Regions from separate parts of the Homo sapiens genome. Here region 1 is linked to region 2. Evidence: promoter capture Hi-C in 16 types of primary human blood cells and fetal thymus (Javierre and others, 2016). All regions are on one chromosome and are shown on one strand. The core of a region is centred on a gene start or on the middle of the fragment in contact, and the rest is flanking DNA. Distances in the headings are between cores, read along the strand shown. Region 1 overlaps CCDC138 (coiled-coil domain containing 138). Region 2 holds the start of LIMS1 (LIM zinc finger domain containing 1).

Evidence for each region. The method cuts DNA at HindIII sites, captures the fragments that hold promoters and counts their contacts. A CHiCAGO score of 5 or more calls a contact.
Region 1: a fragment that was not itself captured here is called in contact with the fragment with the promoter of LIMS1 in region 2 in 7 of 17 cell types (neutrophils, naive B cells, total B cells and 4 more); the score reaches 7.3 in neutrophils.

Annotation. Positions count from the first base shown.
Region 1 is chr2:108,787,833-108,794,295 of GRCh38, reverse strand. CCDC138 (coiled-coil domain containing 138) reads right to left here. Exons shown (of 15, transcript NM_144978.3): 2 at 6,207-6,264; 3 at 5,330-5,444; 4 at 2,494-2,621. It also overlaps a transcript of RANBP2 not described here. Among named protein-coding and RNA genes, the nearest start is that of CCDC138, 4.3 kb to the right of the region's middle. RefSeq lists a silencer at 3,436-3,610. The HindIII fragment of the contact is 772 bases long and covers 1,662-2,433 here.
Region 2 is chr2:108,532,141-108,539,339 of GRCh38, reverse strand. LIMS1 (LIM zinc finger domain containing 1) reads right to left here and starts at 4,870. Exons shown (of 10, transcript NM_001193483.3): 1 at 4,746-4,870. The coding sequence starts at 4,777. It overlaps GCC2-AS1 (GCC2 antisense RNA 1), which reads left to right and starts at 5,121. Exons shown (of 3, transcript NR_135290.1): 1 at 5,121-5,511. RefSeq lists silencers at 4,625-5,224, 5,713-6,007. The HindIII fragment of the contact is 7,547 bases long and covers 3,615-7,199 here.

The DNA.
Region 1 (6,463 bases), core at 798-3,297, 260 kb before region 2:
AAATATTTTAAAGGATATAAAAAGACACTAATTGCCAAGAAATGGAAAGCAACCTTAAAAGCCCCTAATCATGTTCCCCTCTCTCCCCTAAACCAAATTTACCACTAATGCAAGTAAGTGTTACATGCTGCTTTGCTTTGCTGTTTAATCTCCACTACTTAATCTTAAAAGTCCTTGCTTGTTTTGCCTTTTATATTTTATATGTAATTATATTAACATAATTTCTATAACCTCTTCTTTTAAACAGGTTCACAAATCTTCACTGTATATCCTATTTTGCAAACACTGTATACAGCATCCTCCTATAGGTGGAAATTTGAGCTGATTTGGCTATACAGATGCTACAGTCTCGTACGTGGCTTCTGGTGTACAAGTTTAAGAGTTTCCTGAGGGTGGCAGGGCGCGGTGGCTCACGCCTATAATCCCAGCACTTTGGGAGGCCGAGGCGGGCGGATCATGAGGTCAGGAGATTGAGACCATCCTGGCTAACACGGTGAAATCCCGTCTCTACTAAAAATACAAAAAAAAAAAATTAGCCGGGCGTGATGGCGGGTGCCTGTAGTCCCAGCTACTCGGGAGGCTGAGGCAGGAGAGTGGCGTGAATCCGGGAGGCGGAGCTTACAGTGAGCCCAGATCGCGCTACTGCACTCCAGCCTGGGCGACAGAGCGAGACTCCATCTCAAAAAAAAAACAAAACAAAACAAAAAAAAGTTTCCTGAGGGTATATAAGTAGTAGCAAAATTGCTAGATCATAGGGTATATGTGCAGATTCAACTTTACTAGTGATGCCAAATTGTTTTCCAAAGTGGCTGTATCAATTTACTCTCCCAACAGCAGTAGGTGAGTTCCTCTTGCTTGATATCCTTGCCAGCACTATACTGTCAGAATTTATTTTCTTTTAACAATTAGAGTATAAAATGCTCTCGGTCAGTGTTTTTTTGTTGTTGTTTTGTTTTGTTTTTTGAGACGGAGTCTCACTCTGTCGCCCAGGCTGGAGTGCAGTGGCGCGACCTCGGCTCACTGTAAGCTCCGCCTCCCGAGCAGCTGGGACTACAGGGGCCAGCCACCAAGCCCGGCTAATTTTTTTGTTATTTTTTTTTTTAGTAGAGACAGGGTTTCACCGTGTTAGCCAGGATGGTCTGGATCTCCTGACCTCGTGATCCGCCCACCTCTGCCTCCCAAAGTGCTGGGATTACAGGCACGAGCCACCGTGCCCGGCCTTGCTTTTTTTTTTGAGACAGAGTCTCTCTGTCGCCCAGACTGGAGTGCAGTGGCACAGTCTCAGCTCACTGCAACCTCCGCTTCCCGGGTTCAAGTGATTCTCCTGCCTCAGCCTCCCGAGTAACTGGGACTACAGGCACGTGCTACCATGCCTGGCTAATTTTTTGTATTTTTAGTAGAGACAGGGTTTCACCGTGTTAGCCAGGATGGTCTCGATCTCCTGACCTCGTGATCCACCCGCCTCGGCCTCCCAAAGTGCTGGGATTACAGGCGTGAGCCACCGCGCCTGGCCGACGCTCAGTGGTTTTAACTTGCACTAGACTCATGGAAGCCCCAGCTTTAAAAAAGGAGGGGGGTGTGTCTTCCATTATACTCCATTTTGAACAGACAACGGAGAAGTAAAAATAAAACATAGTATGAATTTTTTAAAATGAAAAGCTTCACTTCACTCAGTTCAGCAAATGCCCTAAAAGTGAAAGGCACATTCACAGAGCTCTACTTGCCTGTCTAGGTTCCCGACTCACCAATCCCTGGCCCGAGCATTTCTTAATTTTGTCTACTTTCAAATATGAGGTTGGTGCAAAAGTCATTGTGGCTTTTGCCATTACTTTTAATGGAATACAAGCAACATTTTCTTTATACCTTATCCCATGTTTTCCACTGGGAAAATCGACCATATAGCAGGAAACTCAAGTCCCGACAGAATTATTTTTCATCTTCCTCAAATGATGAGAATAATGGGACAAAGGAAAACAAAGGAGAGGGAAAAGAGGAAAATGAATGTTGTTGTGTGTAGACCATAATACCAGCACCAGTATTATCAACAGGGCAACTCAAAGTCTTGTAGCCCAGAGGGTGAAGGGTGCCATTTCTGGTTGTCTCATTCCTTGAAATCCCGCCACAACTATGAAATGCAGCCAGATACACAGAAAACTGCTGGCAGTTCAGTGCCCAGAAATCCATACTTCAAATAATCTGGAGTATTTTCTCAAAATATTGTAGTCAAATACTACCACAATCATCTACTCAGTTATTAACTTATTTTGATAAATTTTGAGGGTACAGGAATATTACTGAAAAATAATGAAGTTTAATTTTCTCTGCTCCTTTAGTTTAATAATAAGCACAGTAACTATCTCCTAGCTTACAGAAGTTCAGAACACAGAAATATGCAAACTCTTGGGGGCCAGTGTTATTACTAGGAGGGAAGCTTCATTTACTCTACTTGACAAAGTTACTACTGAATTGATTGTTCTAAAATATTTATTTTACCTTTTTCTATTTCTTTAAAAGACTGCTTGGTTATTTTCGAGGTACTAACTCTATAATCATTTTCAATTAACTCTTCTTCTGTTTCCTGTTTCTTCAAATCATGGAAAGAATCCAGTTCATCATCTAGGCTTTAAAAAAATAATTGTATCACAGCAATCTAGAAGTTTACTATAGCACTTTAAAAAGATAAAACTGCTTTTCAAATATTAACAGCATAACTGAGAAAAAATGTAAAAACATTTTTTAAACTGCAAAATGTAAACATGTAAAAAGAAAAAACGTAAAAACTAACAGTCACTGATCATTGATAACCCACTACAAGCATCTTTTTCTACACATTAAATAGACTTAATTTAAAATGACATATACCTACCTGTGGTATATTCTACAGCTAAGGAACACTTTATTTTGACTCCCAATAATCTGTTATCTATAAGGTAGTTTTAGCTAAAATAATATACATAAGTAAACTAAACCTAAGTAAGTCAAATAACTGATGGGTGACATAACGAGTAGAAAGTGGAGCAGAACTAGAATTCCAGGTGTTGTCTCCAAAAAGACAATCTGAGTTGAAATTTTTGGAATAGTATTGTTCAAAAGCAATATAACACAAGTCATATAGGTAATTTAAAATTTTCTAGTAGCACGTTAAAAAAATAAATTTTAAAAATATTAGTTAATATAATATATCTAAAAGTTTATCATTTCAACATGTAATCAATGTTAAAAATTATTAGGATAGAACAGGCATGGTGGCTCACGCCTGTGATCTCAGCACTTTGGGAGGCCGAAGTGGGAGTATCTCTTGAGCCCAGGAGTTCAAGATCAGCCTGGACAACACAGTGAGACTCTGTCTCTACAAAAAGAAAAATAAATAAAATAAATTAGCTGGGAGTAGTGGTGCACGTCTGTAGTCCCAGCTACTCAGGAGCCTGAGGTGAGAGGATCGTTTGAGCCCAGGAGTTGGAGGCTACAGTGAGTTACAATTATGCTACTGCACTCACAGCCTGGGCAACAGGCTCGCCCCCTGCAAACCCACATACACCCACACAAAATTAAGATATTTTACATTATTTTATCCATGCCTATTTATTTATTTTTTGAGACGGAGTCTCACTCTGTCACCCAGGTTGCAGTGCAGTGGCGCGATCTCGGCTCACTGCAACCTCTGCCTCCGGGTCCAAGCAATTCTCCTGTCTCAGCCTCCCGAGTAGCTGGGACTACAGGCACCCGCCACCATGCCCGGCTAATTTTTGTTATCTATGCTAAGTCTTAGAAAGCCAGTGTGTATATGACACTTACAGCATATCTCAATTCAGACCAGCCCCATTTCAAGTACTCAATAGGTACATGTGGCCTGTTGCTACTGTGCTGGACAGCATAGTTTCAGACCAGATCACAACTAGGGGTCCAATGTTATGAAAACCTTCATAGTCCAAAACCTTTAGATTATAGTTTAGAGTTATACCCAGGTCATTATATAAAAAATGATAAAACTCAGTTAAAAAGAAAATAATTTCCATAAATTTATAATTATTACCTTAAAAGCAATTTTCACTTTCCTTACCCTACATTCAACGTAGCTCATGTCTAAATCCTAAATCTAGATCAACTAGATTTTGTGAGTGCAACATGAAATAGTAATAATAATGATAATAGGTAACATTTGAGTACTTATTATTTACCCAGAACTGTTCAAAGTGTGTTACACAGATTAACTTATTTAAGTAGAGAAAGAGAAAACTGTATTAAAAAAAGTCAAGCTCCCAAATACTAATTATGTAACATACAGATACTTTAGGCATAATTATTTTTTCTCTCCACAATTATTTCAACATTTCATGTTATATATGGATACATCTTTATTTCAAAATGCTTACTCCTTCTTGATACCCATAGCATTTCTTTCTGCCACATATTTTTAGCATTAAATAATATCCAACTTAGATCTTTATTTTACCTTAGCTTCCACTGTTTTTATATTTTTTCCCCATAGTAAATAGTATCTTCCTTACAGAACGGCAACTTCTTTTAACCCAGCACTGTATCCTACATACCCTGTAGTTACCATCTCCCCAGACCACCTTCTTCAATCTCTCTCAATCACCTAAATACAATGCATACAATACCAGACACACCAGAGATAGTAAAATGCTGCTGCCTAACAAAACCTGTATGGCAGTTTTTTTTGTAGTTCGTTTTTTCTTTCTTCAGGACAGTTTTGCTCATCACCCAGGCTGGAGTGCAATGGCACAATCTTAGCTCACTGCAACCTCCACCTCCCGGGTTCAAGTGATTCTCCTGCCTCTGCCTCTCAAGTCGCTGAGATTCCAGACGCACACCACCAAGCCTGGCTAATTTTTCTATTTTTTAGTAGAAACGGGATTTCACCATGTTGGCCAGGATGGTCTCAAACTCCTGACCTCAGGTGATCCACCCGCCTCGGCCTCCCAAAGTGCTGGGATTACAGGCGTGAGCCACCGCACCTGGCCCATAGTTCCTTTTCTAAAAAAAAATTTTTAAAGAAAGGGAGCAGAGTCTTCATTTGGGTCCTGAATGAATAACCATAAAAATATATTTTTTCATCTTTTACATTATATAAATAACTTTCCATTATGCCACTAAATATAATGCTAGGTCTATGCTTTTATTACAGAGATTCTCAGTAAAAATTAATAAGTGACTCGCTTCAACTATTTAGCAGGCTCCAGACTGCCTTATACTTGTCCTCATACTTGTCCTCAGGAAAGAGCAAAAATATAACCTGCCCTTTTCTCTTTCTCAGTTTTTTGAGATACTGAGGGGGTAGCAACAGTAAAGTTTCAGGGTACTTTACCAATTCACATTTACGTGCTTGAATAAGCTGCCCAATGGTGTTCTACAATGCTTGCTTTCATCAGAATATTTTAACGATGAACCAACTTTATCTCCAGAGTAGATATCCAAATCACCTGTCAACGACAAAGAAACCATGAAAGATTACCACAACAATATATCACAAAATATCTGGCACTGGCCATAAGTCTAAATAATACTATTTTTAAAATCTTCTCTCTCAAATTTTTTTTTCTTTTTTTTTCTTTGAGACGGAGTCTCGCTCTGTCACCCAGGCTGGAGTGCAGTGGCGCAATCTCGGCTCACTGCAAGCTCCGTCTCCCGGGTTCACCCCATTCTCCTGCCTCAGCCTCCTGAGTAGCCGGGACTACAGGAGCCCGCCACCACACCCGGCTAATTTTTTGTATTTTTTTTAGTAGAGACGGGGTTTCACCGTGTTAGCTAGGATGGTCTCCATCTCCTGACCTCGTGATCCGCCCGCCTCGCCTCCCAAAGTGCTGGGATTACAGGCGTGAGCCACCGCGCGCAGCCTATTTTTTTCTTTTTTGAGACTGAGTTTCGCTCTTGTTGCCCAGGCTGGAGTGTAGTGGCGCCATCTCGGCTCACTGCAACCTCTGCCTCCCGGGTTCAACCGATTCTCCTGCCTCAGCCTTCCCAGCAGTTGGGATTACAGGCGCCCGCCACCATGCTCGGCTAATTTTTTGTATCTTTAGTAGAGACGGGATTTCACTATGTTGGCCTGAGTGGTCTCGAACTCCTGACCTCAGGTGATTCGCCTGCCTCGGCCTCCCAAAGTGCTGGGATTACAGGCGTGAGCCACCGCGCCCAGCCTCAAATTAAATTTTTGAAACCCCCAAATATACAAAATACCGGCTTACCTGGGGAGGTTAGAGTTCTTCTCTTATACTTAGACTGATAAAAATTTGAAAAATCATACTAAAAAAAAAAAGAAAAGATTTAATTTGTATACTAAAAATCAATTTACTGTCTCAAAATATTTCCCCACAAATTATGTATTAATTACAAAGGTTAGAGTGGAGAAATCTTGTAGACACCATCTTAACCAAGTGATCAAAACTAATATCATCAATAATGTGACAAACCAACGTCATGTTCCTCCCCACAGCAGGCCACA
Region 2 (7,199 bases), core at 3,621-6,120:
GCCGAGAAGGGCGGATCGCTTGAGGCCAGGAATTCAACACTAGGCTGGGCAAGATGGGGAAACCCTGTCACTACAAAAAATACAAAATATTAGCCGGGCATAGTGGCATGTACCTGTTGTCCCAGCTACTCAGAAGTCTAAGGTGAAAGGATCACCTGACCCCAGGAGGTTGAGGCTGCAGTGAGCCATGATTGCACCACTTTACTCCAGCCTGGGTGACAGAGTGAGACCTTGTCTCAAAAACAAAACAAAACAAAAAACACTCTGGCAGAGATGTTCAAAGTGTTTGTGATAATTAAAAAATAGAACCCAAATAACCACTAGTCAAGGACTGGATGTACAAATCATATCACATGTACACTGTGAAATACTATGCAGCCATTAAAACTAAGGTTAAAAAACATAAGGTAAACCCAGATACACCGCTCTAAGACAGCTTGTTGAAGTAAAAAAGCAATTGCAAGAAATGGGGAGTTGGTATTTACTGGTCACAGAGTTTCAGTTTGGGAAGATGAAAAAGTTCTTGGAAGGAAGGGTAGTGATGGTTGCACAGCAACGTCAATGTACATAATGCCACAGAACTGTACACTCAAAAATGGTTAAAATAGTAAATTTTGTTTTGCATGTTTTCCCGTAACTTTTTTAATACTAAAAAAAGCAATTGCAGAATAGTATGACTATGATTCCATTTTTGTAGAAAGGGAAAGTATGTGTAAACATTACTTGTAAATGCATGTTGTCTGTTATCTTGCTTTACCTTGCCTGCTACTCAGACATCCTGAAAGCCCTGGATTCCTGGTGTGCTGATGCTGAGTCCCGTGCCTCCCACTGCCAAGCACATACTCCCAGCAGCTGAACTACTGCCTTCACCTTTCTTCCTACCTCTCACAGAATGCACTCTTCAGCACTTGCTTTATCTGCAGCTGTCCCGCCCCACTGTTAAATGTCACTGAAGACTCATCAAGCTCCAAAACGTGCTCCAACGTGAAAAAAGATGCAGGAAAATGACTCCCTTACTCATTCCTGCAGTAAGCTCCAGGGTGGAAATGTGTGATATGATCAAATAAAAGAGATGAGATTATATCAGAAAGAGTGAAAAGGAAACCTCTGTTGCTGAAGAATGCACAGTATATGGCAACAGGTAGTGCAGCTCCTGCTTCTCAAGTGTCTTAAAATTAAAGTTTTTGGAAGACAATGTGGCAACAGTCCAGCATATAATGTAGATGACATCCCTGTGGGTGGAAAACCACAGCTTAAAGTGTAGTTACGAGAACTATAAAACTAACAAAATGGTTTGAGATGTTTTTCCTTCTATTTAAGTGCAAACCTAGGTAAGAACATGACCTATACTGAGGTTTATTTATTTAAATGATTATCCAAAGAGCAAACACAACATTATTGAAAATAGAGGCTTTCAGAGTAAAGCTCGGCTCTCCTGTTACTGATCTGCTGCAGCTATGGAAGTTTCTCTGACCCAGTGGAGGGGCTCCAAGGTCCCCCTCTCTAGGAGGAAAGGAAAGCCTACTTGTTGTACTCACATTTAGCAAAGGAAAGAACTGCCCAGGAGACAGGTCAAGGGGCTACAGCAAAGGGAAAAGGGTGGGAATGATCAAATAAAATCAAGACAGCACAATCCTGATGGACAGTTTTCTCTAAGCCTGCAAAAACCGGAACCACCAGAACTGAAATGATCTTTTGTACCACCAAACTTTCCTTAGCTTTCTTAAAAATCAACAGTTCGATTTTCTCACCATACAAACAGGCACAGAGCACTGAAAAGTGTGAATACACTTAGGCCCATGGCATTGTCCCTCTTCATAATGGCACTGGCCATTTTCTTATCAGGGAAAATCCTGAAAGGCAGAAAGTTGCTTCTTCCATGGTGGTCCAAGTCTTAGTTATTACATCCTACTAAAACTAGCCAAAACTACAAGGCACACACTACCACAAGCATTCAAGAGCAATTTTAAGAGAAACCTTGTATTTGTTCCTTTTTAAATATCCCCAATACCTGCATATCCTTCATCATTTAGGATTATGTCTTTAACAGTGGTTCTTAAAGTATGGCCTTGAACTCCTGAGGGTCTCCAAGACCTTTCTAAGGGATCCGAGAGATCAAAACTATTTTCATCATACTAAGATATTCCTAAGAAGTCACTGTAGCATTGTGGACTGTGTTGACACACAGATAGTGCAAAAACAACAGTCGGTACAACTGCTGGCCGCTTAGCACTAAAGAGGGCCGTGGTACTGTCCCTGAATTCTTTACCTTTATGTACTCACAGGAAAATAATGTCAATTTCACTTTTTAAGTGAAATGGTACAGTCATGCTGGAAAAAAACTGTCAGTTTCTCAAAAAACTAAACATACGATTTCTGTACAACCTGCCAATTGCACACTCTTGGACATTTATCCCAGAAAAGGAAAAGTTACATTCACATAAAACTTAGACAGGCTGAGCACAGTGGCTCTAAAATTCCAGCACTTTGGGAGGCTGAGGTGGGTGGACTGCTGGAACCCAGGAGTTTGGGACCCCCAGACTAGCCTGGACAACATGGCGAAACCCTGTTTCTACCAAAAAAATACAAAAATTATCCAGGCATGGTGGCGTGTGTCTGTAGTCCCAGCTACTTGGGGGACTGAGGTGGAAGGATTGCTTCAGCCTGGGAGGTCTAGGGTGCAGTAAGTCATGATCATGCTACTGCATTCCACTCCAGTCTGGGTGACTAAGCAAGACACTGTCTCAAAAACAACAACAAACACCTGTCTATTTGTTCGTAGTAGCTTTCTTAATAGCCCAAAACTAACAGCCTGAATGTCCTTCAAACATGTGAACAGTTAAACTGCTGTACATCCATACCATGGAGCACTACTGAGCAACAAAAAGGAACAAACTATGACATGCACAACAAATAGCGTATGATTCCACTTACATGAGATATGAGGTACCAGCAGTAGTCAAAGTCATAGACAGAAATTAAAATGATGGCTGCCAGGGACTGGCGGGAGGAGGGGAATGGAGAATTATTGTTTAATAGGTACAGAGTTTCAGTTTTGTAAGATAAAGATTTCTGGACATGTATGATGGTTACGGATGCACAATAATTTGAATGAACTTATTACTCTCCCTCCAAAAAGTAAATTACTAATGGTAAATTCAGGATGGGAAGGGGATAGGATGCGGAGAGACACTGGACCAGAGAGGTTTGAAGGTCTTAAAAGGAAACTATTATCTCCTTTATTACACTACATATCCGTTATTCTTAATATCTCACAAATACTTTAAATTTTATATCAACTTACTAGTCAATACTTTTTTTTAAGGAAAAAAGTCCATGATGAAGGAGTACAAATTATTGTTATCAAATCTTGAGCTTTGACTCTTTTTTGTTACTTGTGACCAAATGGCAGGCGTGCACTTCTGTAATAGAGCGATGAGCTGAATTAACTTGCTTGTGTCATGAAATACCATTTTTACGGGAAAGAACAACTGACAAACTAGGGTTATTTAAACCTGTATTGCCGGACACTTCCTTGAAACTGAACAAAGTGAGTCTGTCACTTTGAGGAAAACAATTGACAATATTTTGCTCCCAATGATAAAAAGCAAGCTTTCAACCGAAAATGAGAATTTTGGAAAACTTGTAAACACCACCTTGTATCTGACGGCTTTTAACATAAAGACTTTCCTAATGAAATCAATAGCGATGGTAACGAATGTTATTCGGCGCTATTAATGAAATGCGTCAGCTTGAGATCTGCCAAACTCAGTGAGCCAATATCTTCCAAACGACAAATATATGGTGTTACAATGGGTAACAGCTGCATTCAAACTGCAAGACAGACCAAGGAATTTTAACGTAACTGTGTGCAAAGGCCACTGACAGGAGCTTTAGCTGCATTCAAACTGCAAGACAGACCAAGGAATTTTAACGAAACTGTGTGAAAAGTCCGCTGACAGTAGCTTCAGATTCCACGTCCAAACCAGCCTTTGAGAAACTTCCACTTACGTAGTTTTGGTGTAGTAATAAAGAATACCCATAATTATCTGAAACAGCTATTAAGACAGTACTCACTTTTCCAACTACACATCTGTGTAAGATCAGATTTTCTTCATATAAAAACATACCGCAACAGACTGAACTGCAAAGGAGATGGGAGAACGTAGTTGTCTCTACTAAGTCAGACAACTCAAGAGATTCGCAAACTGTAAAGGACGCCAGTCGTCCCACGAACTCTTTTGTTTTAGCAAAACCCTATGTTGCATAAAAATGTGGTATGTACGTTAACATACCACGGATTTATTCAATGAGTTAATAGTAACTTCAGTGTCTCGGTTTTCCTTTCTAGTACAGTCTATGGAGATAGCCACCATTCCAGGTCCTCTAGTCCCAAGAGGGGTCCTGAGACCAAGACGTCTGCGACCCGCTGATCCCTACTGCTAGAAGATAAATGATTAGCTCGGCAAATACTGATTTGTCTTATGGAACTCTCGGAGCAGCGGGGCGGCGTCAGCGCCTGTGCCACCGCGGACACCCGGGAGTGAACAGCAGCCGTCTCCTCCGCGGGCCCGGACGCAGCCACGCCGCCACCCGAGCGCTGGGGGTCGGGGCTCCGGCCGACCGGGGGAGGCCGCGGGGAAAGCCCGGCCGCCCGCCCGCGCCAGGCCCGGCCCGGCCCGGCCCGAAGGCCCGCCGGGAGCTGCGGGGCGGACGTGGCGGGGGCCGCGCGGTGCGGCCCGTACCTGTGGGTCATCCCGGCCGCCACGCCCAGCATCTCTCCGCTTTCGGCCGCCGCCGTCTCTCAGCCCCTCGTCTCCCGGCGCCGCTCCAGCCGCGTCCTAGTCCCTCGCCGCCGCGGCCGGCTACTGGCGGGCCCGGAGCAGGAAGGGGAGGAAGGCCAGGGGCCGGCCGCGCGGGGGCGCGGGAGGGGGGGGAAGGCGAGGCGGGCCGCGCGGGAAGGCGGGGGAGGGGCGGGAGCGGCTGGGCAAGGAGGGGCGGGGACTGGCGGGGCGGGCGCCGAAGGGCGCGGACTGGAGAGGTAGGCGCGGGGGGGCGGGGCGTTGCGGGGCGGGGCGCGCATCAGACCCCGCCCCAACCCGTGGCTCGGGCCCGCCCCCATTTCAGCACCCCAGGCTAGTCTGGGAGGCTGGCGCAAACGCAGCGGGTGGCTGGGGTAGGGGCTCATTGGGAGCCCACGGAGCGCGGCGGCGGCTCGGGGGCCGAGTTCCCTACAACAAGGATGGCGGTGACGGGCGCAGGGAGCGGGGCCCGGCTCTCCTTGCCTCGAGGCTCCTCTGATTCCACTCGCGTGGCTGCGCGGCCCTGGCAGCGGCCTTCGTCCCGGGGGTGGGAGCTACACAGGGTTCCGCCCCGTCCTGGCGAGGACGCCTGAGGGGGCTCTGTGGTAAGGCTCTGTCGGGCAGGCCGGGCTTCCGGGAGGACCTGGTCTGGATCGGTCACCGCTGGGTGCCTGAGCTCCGCATGGAGCCTGCAGCCTTTGTTTAACTTGTGAGTTAAGAAAAGTTAACCTTTCTTGGAGAGTTTCCAGTCTTGCCTCTGCATCCTGTTCTTCCTTGCTAGCTCTCATTTTCTTCACCCATTCCGTCTATCAAAACCTGAAATTTTGGGGCCGGCGCAGTGGCTCACGCCTGTAATCCCAGCACTTTGGGAGGCTGAGGCAGGCGGATCACCTGAGGTCAGGAGTTCGAGACCAGCCTGACCAACATGGAGAAACCCCGTCTCTACTAAAAATACAAAATTAGCCGGGCGTGGTGGTGGCACATGCCTGTAATCCCAGCTACTCGAGAGGCTGAGGCAGGAGAATCGCTTGAACTTGGGAGGCGGAGCTTGTGGTGAGCTGGGAGATCGCGCCACTGCACTCCAGCCTAGGTAACAGGCTCCGTCCCAAAAAAAAAAAAAAAAAAAAGTGAAATCTCCAAAGGATTTAATAGATTTAATAGATAAGACAAGTTATTCATCCTGGGCATAAATGATCTCTCTCAGGATACCTGATTCTGTAACTATAGCTACTCTCTAGTAATAGAATGAAAACTTTGGTCTCCTGCCAGTCGAGGCATGTCGGAGGAAAACACTGGATCTATTTGATGTCCTCACATGAAAGTAAATTCCAAACAAAGCAAATAGTTAAATGTTCAAAAAACAAAAAAAAAAAAAAAAAAAAAGAGAGAGGTTATGAAAATACCAGAAGAAAACAAGGGAAAAAAACAAAAGTAAGGTTGGAGTGGTGAGAGACTTTTCAAAGAGCATATAAACCATAAAATTAAAAATTGATAAATGTAGGCCGGGCACGGTGACTCACGCGTGTAATCCCAGCACTTGGAGAGGCTGAGGTGAGTGGATCACCTGAGGTCAGGAGTTTGAGACCAGCCTGACCAACATGGTGAAACCCCGTCTCTAATAAAAATACAAAAATTTCACCGGTTGTGGTGGCGGGGTTCCTGTAATCCCAGCTACTTGGGAGGCTGAGGCAGGAGAATTACTTGAACCTGGGAGACAGAGGTTGCAGTGAGCCGAGATCGCGCCATTGCAGTCCAGCCTGGGCGACAGAGCAAGACTCTGTCTCTAAATAAATAAATAAAAATTGATAAATGTAACTACATAGAAATCTAAATTTTCTGCATAGCAAATAAATATAACAAACCCCAACCAAGAAAAATATTTGTAAAATGTATGACAAAAAGTTCTAAATTATTAAAAAAGTTCTAATTATTAAAAAAATCAGTACAAAAATGTTCAACTCAGAGAAAAACAGGTTTCTACAGAAAAATACAAATGATTTCTTAAAGTATCATAAAACAAAAATAAAATACAATTTTTCACAAATGCAAAGATGAAAAGTTTGACTATATATTGTTTTGATGAGGATATAGGGAAACCCTTTTTTCCTCCCCTAGAGGAGGCCTCTCTATGTTACCCACACTGGTCTTGAACTCTTGGACTTCAACTATCCTTTTGAATAGCAGGGTTTACGAGTGCACGTCAGCATGCCTGGCTAATTTATTGTTGATAGGAGTATAAATCCATACACGCTTTGTAAAGAACAAGTGGGCAATAGCTATCAATGTAAAATTCAGCTCTTCTTTGACCCAAGATATTCATATTTTGGAATTTATCTTACAAATGTATTCTTATATGTACACCAAAAGAATGTACAAATTTGGGCATGGTGGCTCACA